Regions from separate parts of the Homo sapiens genome. Here region 1 is linked to region 2. The links are contacts of gene promoters, found by promoter capture Hi-C in human tissues and cell types (Jung and others, 2019). All regions are on one chromosome and are shown on one strand. The core of a region is centred on a gene start or on the middle of the fragment in contact, and the rest is flanking DNA. Distances in the headings are between cores, read along the strand shown. Region 1 holds the start of PDCD7 (programmed cell death 7). Region 2 has its middle 21 kb from the start of OAZ2.

The links. The method cuts DNA at HindIII sites, captures the fragments that hold promoters and counts their contacts. A contact is called where the count stands out against the background at its distance.
Region 1: a contact is called between the fragment with the promoter of PDCD7 here and a fragment that was not itself captured in region 2, in 2 of the 25 tissues and cell types used here (dorsolateral prefrontal cortex and spleen).

Annotation. Positions count from the first base shown.
Region 1 is chr15:65,131,883-65,135,632 of GRCh38, forward strand. It overlaps PDCD7 (programmed cell death 7), which reads right to left and starts at 1,926. Exons shown (of 5, transcript NM_005707.2): 1 at 1,030-1,926. The coding sequence starts at 1,899. RefSeq lists silencers at 1,152-1,551, 1,612-1,821 and an enhancer at 2,112-2,211. The HindIII fragment of the contact is 7,758 bases long and covers 1-3,750 here.
Region 2 is chr15:64,721,882-64,725,705 of GRCh38, forward strand. No RefSeq gene overlaps it. Among named protein-coding and RNA genes, the nearest start is that of OAZ2, 21 kb to the left of the region's middle. The HindIII fragment of the contact is 6,629 bases long and covers 1-3,824 here.

The DNA of each region.
Region 1 (3,750 bases), core at 676-3,175, 410 kb after region 2:
ACAAACTCGTTGTGTGACTGTTGGCAAGTTAACCTCTCTATGCAACTTCCTAACCTGTAAAATTAGCATAATACTTCCTACTTCTCAAGGCTGTTATAAAGATTCAAAATCTGGTATATGTAATGACCTTAGCACACCTCTCTCTATATATACACAGATACATACATATATATACACACATACACATACATACATATATATACACATACATATATGTATGTGTATATATATGTATGTATGTGTATATATATATATATATATAGTAAATGCTCCGAAACACCATTGCTGAACCTGGGGATACATGGTTTAAAACTTGTAAACAAAAGAATCCTAGGGAAATCACTATTGCCCCATCAGCTAATTAGAGTATATATATTCCTTGAGGTAGGGTCCCCAAGTTCTCTATTTTTTTTTTTTTTGAGACGGAGTCTTGCTCTGTCGCCCAGGCTGGAATGCAGTGGTGCGATCTCGGCTCACTGCAACCTCCGCCTCCAGAGTAGCTGGGATTACAGGCGCCCGCCACCACGCATGGCTAATTTTTGTATTTTTAGTAGAGACGGGGTTTCACCATCTTGGCCAGGCTGGTCTTGAACTCCTGACCTCGTGATCCACCCGCCTCCGCCTCCCAAAGTGCTGGGATTACAGGCGTGGGCCACCGCGCCCGGCCTGTATTTTGTATTCTTAAAACCACCTAGGGCAGTACAAGACACAAGGAACTAGACACTTACTGGTTTTGAGAGTAAGTGGACAATGTTGGAGCAGGATAGGGGAGACCTGTCATTCGTGCAGTGCCACCGTGTAATCCTATACTTTGTGTTTACAGGATTTTACAGTGCACCTGGAACTTTTGTGTACCACACATCATTAACACAAAATTAACATGGTGGTATGAGCTGGGAAGGTTAGCTATCGCTTCATTTTGCGCGTAAAACAGAGGCTTAGCCCTGGGAAATGGAAGTTTAAAGCCTCCTGCTGCTCCAGGTTCCAACCACCACCACTCCTACCCCCATGAGCGGCCGCTGCTCTCACCCGCTTCTTCTCCTCCACCTCCTGCACACACTTCACCCTCCAGCGGTCAATCTCCTGCTCGCGTTCCACTGCCCGCGCGGCCTCTGCCTCCCGCTCGGCCTCGCGTTCCCGGGCCCTCTCGCGAAGCCGCAGCCGGCGGCGCCGGACCCTCTCCAGCCTCCTCCGCGCCTCGCCCACATAGGCAGCCTGGGTCAACGGCTGTAGCCGCTCGGCCAGTTCCGCGCGCAGCGGCGCGGTCTGGGAGTACAGCAGGACCCAGGCCGCGCCGTCGGCTTCGGCCTCGCGCAGGGCCTGGCTCAGGCCGCGCAGCCGCCGCACCAGGCGCAGAGCCCGGAGCAATCGCGCGCGCACTTCGCCAAGGCTGGGCCCGGCATGCGTGCGCTGGGGCACCGGACAGCCTGCCCGCCGCGGGGTCCCGAACACCGCCTCCAGCCACTGCCGGTCGCGCAGGCGTTGGAGGGCCGCATCCCCGAGCACGTCGGCCGGCGGCGGCGGCGCCTCAGGCCACCGCGGGCTCCAGGGCGGCCCCGGGCCGGGAGGCGGTGGCCGCGGCCGCTCGCCGGCGTCGGTCCCCGGGAAGGGCCGACACTGGGGCGGCGGAGGAGGCAGCGGCGGTGGTGGCACCGGGTAGAAGGCGCCAGCGCCGCCTCCGCCGCGGGAGGCCTCCGCGGAGGCTCGGGGCTGCAGAGCCAGCGGAGGCTGAAGGAAGGGGGCGGAGGCCCCCGGAAAAGGGCCGGGCCGCTGGGGGAGAGGCGGCGGGAAAGCCGGGGAGGGCAGCGGCGGTGGCGGACAGCCGAAAGGAGCAGGAGGCGGCGGCTGCGGGGGCGGTGGGCCTGGGCGACCCTGGCCGAAGAATGGTGGCAGGGCCATGTTCACGACGGAGATGCTTTGAGAAGTGACAGGAATCTGAGTGGCTCCTCATGAGAACCTTCCGACGGAAGTGACGTCGTTACGACGCGCGACCCCTGTAGACTCGTCCCTCCGGAAGGCTCAGTGCATAAGTGGGCAGTCGTTCAACCTTCTGTCGTTCAGTTCATAAATACCGTTCTTATTGAGCATCCTAGGTGCAGAGCTACCCACTCCGCATACAGTGAGACTGAGAGATACAGAGCTTCTCTTCGTGGAACTATCTGCCTAGTATAACACACTAATCAATTAATCATGGTGAGTATCTTCGAGAAGTTGGAGAAGGTTATCCTAAGAAACTGCGGCTGCAGCTGAGATCTGGAAGATAAATAGTTAAATAGAAAAAGAGAGGGAAGCACAGTGCAGATGAGAACATGTGCAAAGGCCCTAGTAAATAGGAGTGTGACCAACTACCCATTTTCTTAGAAAAATGAATTATTTTTACTTTTCTCCTTTCACCCCACCTCCTATTTAGCTCTTTAGGAATGCAATTATAGGGTGGGTGCTGTGGCTCACGTCTGTAATCCCAGCACTTTGGGAGGCCGAGGCAGGCGAGATCGGCCTGTAGTCCCAGCCATTGGGGAGGCTGAGGTGGGAGGATCACCTGAGCCCTGGGAGGTAAAGACTGCAATGAGCCACGATAACGCCACTGCACTCCACCCTGGGCGACAGAATGACACCTGTCAAAAAAAAAAATCCAATTAACCTTTACCTTCTCTCCACCAGACACTCTCTACACTGTAAGCTTATCTAATTATGTGTTCGCTTATTAGTTCCAAGGACCGAAGCTTAAACCAGGGACCTCTGGAACTTTCCCATACCAGGGGATTGCCTGGGGACAACTGTCAATTTACAACCTAGCTCCCCGCTACCCCCCACCCCCCCTCCGCCTTCGCCCCAGCCTCCATGGCGCCAACCAGATCACTGATGGATACATAGGAGCAAGTCCCATAGACCCAGCACCTCCTTGGTCCCTCCCCACCCCTTGCATGCCATCCAGGTCAACCAAGTCCCGTGCACCCCCCACTTTTTTTGAGACAGAGTCCCTCTGTCACCCAGGCTGGAGTGCAATGACGCACTCTCCACTCACTGCAACCACTGCATCCCAGGTTCCAGTTATTCTTGGTGCCTCAGCCTCCCTAGTCAGTTGCTGGGATTATAGACCCCTGCTGCCACGCCTGGCTAATTTTTGTGTTTTTAGTAGAGAGGGGGTTTCACAATGCTGGCTAGGCTGGTCGTAAACTCCTTACATCAGGTGATCCGTCCACCTTGGCCTCCCAAAGTGCTGGGGTTACAGGTGTGAGCCACCACACCTGGCCACTTTCTTTCTTTTTTTTTTTTTATGAGACAGAGTCTCCCTGTGTCGCCCAGGCTGGAGTGCAGTGGCGTGATCTTGGCTCATTGTAAGCTCTGCCTCCTGGGTTCATGCCATTCTTCTGCCTCAGCCTCCCGAGTAGCTGGGATTACAGGTGCCCACCACCATGCCTGGCTAATTTTTTTGTATTTTTAGTGGAGATGGGGTTTCACCATGTTAGCCAGGATGGTCTCGATCTCCTGACCTCATGATCCGCCTGCCTTGGATCATGTTGGGATTACAGGCGTGAGCCACCGTGCCCGTGGCAGTCACTTTCTTTTTACCATTCTCTTACTTGTTATTTGAATTTGCAAGCTGCAGGGAACTGGACCTGCCTTAGGTTACAGGACTATGTCTAGTGGGAAGCCTGATAGAATGCCAGTTTTGGCCTGTAATCCCAGCACTTTGGGAGGCCGAGGCGGGTGGATTGCCTGAGCTCAGGAGTTCAAGGCCAGCCTGGG
Region 2 (3,824 bases), core at 1,096-3,595:
GGATGTGATTTCTTTGCAATTTTTTTTTGTATTAGAAATATTGAAGCTGGACACAGTGACTCATGCCTGTAATCCCAGCACTATGGGAGGCCGAGGCAGTGGGCAGATTGCTTGAGGCCAGGAGTTTGAGTCCAGCCTGGCCAACAAAGCAAAACCCCATCTCTACTAAAAGTACAAAAATTAGCCGGGCATGGTGATGCGTACCTGTAATCCCAACAACTCAGGAGGCTGAGGCATTAGAATTGCTTGAACCTCGGAGGCAGAGATTGCAGTGAGTTGAGATCAACCCAGTGCACTCCAGCCTGGGTGACAGAGTGAGACTCTGTCTCAAAAAAAAGAAAGAAAAAGAGGCCAGGTGCAGTGGCTCACGCCTGTAATCCCAGCGCTTTGAGAGGCAGAGGCGGGCGGATCACTTGAGGTCAGGAGTTTGAGACCAGCCTGGCCAACATGGTGAAACCCTGTCTCTACTAAAAATACAAAAAATAGCCAGGCGTGGTGGCGTGTGCATGTAATCCCAGCTGCTTGGGAGGCTGAGGCAAGAGAATCGCTTGAACCCAGGTGTCGGAAGTTGCAGTGAGCCAAGATCATGCCACTGCACTCTAGCCTGGGCGACAGAGTGAGACTCCCTCTCAAAAAAAAAAAAAAAAGAAAGAAAGAAAAAAAGAAAAAGTAAGCTGTTCTTTAGCACAGGAAATTTTACATCACTCCTTTTTCTCCTTGAACTTGTATTTTCTTTTTACTTCTCTCACATAATGCTTTCCTAATACAATATGTACTTTATCCCTTTTTTTTTTTTTTTTTTTTTTTTGAGATGCAGTCTTGCTGTGTTGCCCAGCCCAGGCTGGAGTGCAATGGCACAATCTCAGCTTACAGCAATCTCCGCCTCCCGGGTTCAAGCGATTCTCCAGCCTCAGCCTCCCCAGTAGCTGGGATTATAGGTGCCTGCCACCACGCCCAGCTAATTTTTGAATTTTGAGCAGAGACAGGGTTTCACCATGTTGGCCAGGCAGATCTTGAACACCTGACCTCAGGTGATCCACCCACCTCAGCCTCCCAAAGTGCTGGGATTATAGGCGTGAGCCACTGCGCCCAGCATTTTTTTTTTCCCCCAAGATGGAGTTTCACTCTTGTTGCCCAGACTGGAGTGCAGTGGCGCGATATCAGCTCACCGCAAGCTCTGCCTCCCGGGTTCCAGCGATTCTCCTGCCTCAGCCTCCCGAGTAGCTGGGATTATAGGCATGCACCACCACGCCCAGCTAATTTTTGTATTATTAGTAGAGACAGGGTTTCTCCATGTTGGTCAGGCTAGTCTCAAACTCCTGACCTCAGGTGATCCACCCACCTCAGACTCCCAAAGTGCTAGCTAGGATTACAGGCGTGAGCAACTGCACCCGGCCAAGAATTCTTAAATATAAGACACAAAATTGTATAGGAAATACAACTTATATTGAGAGAGATGTTCTCATGCTAGAGTGAGACAGTGATAAGCATCAATGTTTTTGTTGGCTGGTTGGTTGTTTTTCTGAGACAGAGTCTTGCTCTGTTGCCTAGGCTGGAGTGCAGTGGTGCAAATGTGGTTCACTGCAGCCTCGACCTCTTGGGCTCAGGCAGTCTCCTGCCTCAGCCTCCCACGTACATGGGAATACAGGTGTGCATGACCATGCTCAACTAATTTTTTGTAGAGACAGGGACTCACTTTGTTGCCCAGGCTGGTCTCCTGGGCTCAAGCCTTGGCCTCTCAAAGTGCTGGGATTACAGGTATGAGCCATTATGCTTAGGCTGTGTTTTCGTTGTTATTGTTGTCTTTTTTTTTTTTTTTTTTTTTTGAGACAGTCTGACTGTGTTGCCCAGGCTGGAGTGCAGTAGCTATTCACAGGCATGATCGTAGTTCACTGCAGCCTCAAACTTCTAGGCTCAAGTGATCCTCCTGCCTCAGTCTCCTGAGTAGCTGGGACTACAGGTACATACCGCCACACCTGGCTAGGCTCAATTTTATTTCAACGTTTCAATCTCACACATGGTAATGCTGAGGTATCTTATTCACATAAGTACCTGGGAAAGGAAGAAGTTCTAGCAGAGTCACTCAATACCACCTAATCATCAAGCAGATGACAACAAAATTTGTTTCAGGTCCTTCCATTCAAAAGCAAAATATTGGGAAAGCTTTAGTTTGTAGAAAGGATCTATAATACAGTCATTTGAGTCATTCACTTTCTCAATATTGAAATCACTATTTCAAACTGTTTCTGTTTGAATTCCCAGAGATTTTTACACATCAAGACAATATACCAAATACCAGATCTCCCAACATACCAAACATCAGATCAACCAACAAACCAAATACCAGATCACCAACAAACCAAATACCAGATCTCCCAACATACCAAATACCAGATCACCAACATACCAAATACCAGATCACCAACATACCAAATACCAGATCTCCAACATACCAAATACCAGATCTCCAACATACCAAATACCAGATCTCCAACATACTAAATACCAGATCACCTAGCATACCAAATACCAGATCTCCCAACATACCAAATATCAGATCAACCAACAAACCAAATACCAGATCACCAACAAACCAAATACCAGATCTCCCAACATACCGAATACCAGATCACCAACATACCAAATACCAGATCTCCAACATACCAAATACCAGATCTCCAACATACCAAATACCAGATCACCTAACATACCAAATACCAGCTCTCCCAACATACCAAATACAAGATCTCCCAACATACCAAATACCAGATCTCCAACATACCAAATACCAGATCAACAACATACTAGATCTCCTAAGATCTAGGATGAAGGGCCAGGCATGATGGCTCATGCCTATAATCCTAGCACTTTGGGAGGCTGAGGTAGGTGGATCACTTAAGCCCAGGAGTTTGAGACCAACCGGAGCAACATGGCAAAACCCCATCTCTACTAAAAATACAAAAATTAGCCAGGCACGATGGCTCACACCTGTAATCCCACACTTTGGGAGGCTGAGGCGGGAGGATCACTTCAGGCAAGAGGTCTAAGACCAGCCTGGCCAACATAGCAAAACACCGTCTCTACTAAAAACACAAAAAATTAGGCCAGGTGCGGTGGCTCATGCCTGTAATCCCAGCACTTTGAGAGGTCGAGGCGGGCAGATCACAAGGTCAGGAGTTCCAGAACAGCCTGACCAACATGGTGAAACCCCGTCTCTACTAAAAACACAAAAATTATCTGGGCATGGTGGCTTGCACCTGTAGTCCCAGCTACTCAGGAGGCCGAGGCAGGAGAATCACTTGAACCCAGGAGGCGGAGGTTGCAGTGAGCCGAGATCGAGCCACTGCACTCCAGCCTGGGTGACAGAGCGAGACTATGTCTCAAAAAAAAAAAAAAAAAAAAAAATAGCCAGGTGTGGTGGTGCGCACCTGTAATCCCAACCACTGCACTCCAGCCTGGGCGACAGAGCAAGACTCCATCTCAAAAAAAAAAAAAAAAAAAATTAACCCGGTGTGGTGGCGTGCACCTTAATCCCAGCTACTCGGGAGAGTGAGGGAGAATCACTGGAACCCAGGAGGCAGAGGTTGCAGTGAGCCGAGATCGTGCCACTGCACTTCAGCCTGGGTGACAGAGGGTGACTCTCTCAAAAAAATAAACAAGTAAATAAAAATAAAAATACAAAAATTAGGCAGATGTGATGGCACATGCCTGTAATCCCATCTATTCAGGCAGTTGAGGTGGGAGGATCACTTGAGCCTGAGAGGTCGAGGCTTCAGTGAGCCATGATCTCACCACTGCACTCCAGTCTGGGCAACAGGGTGAGA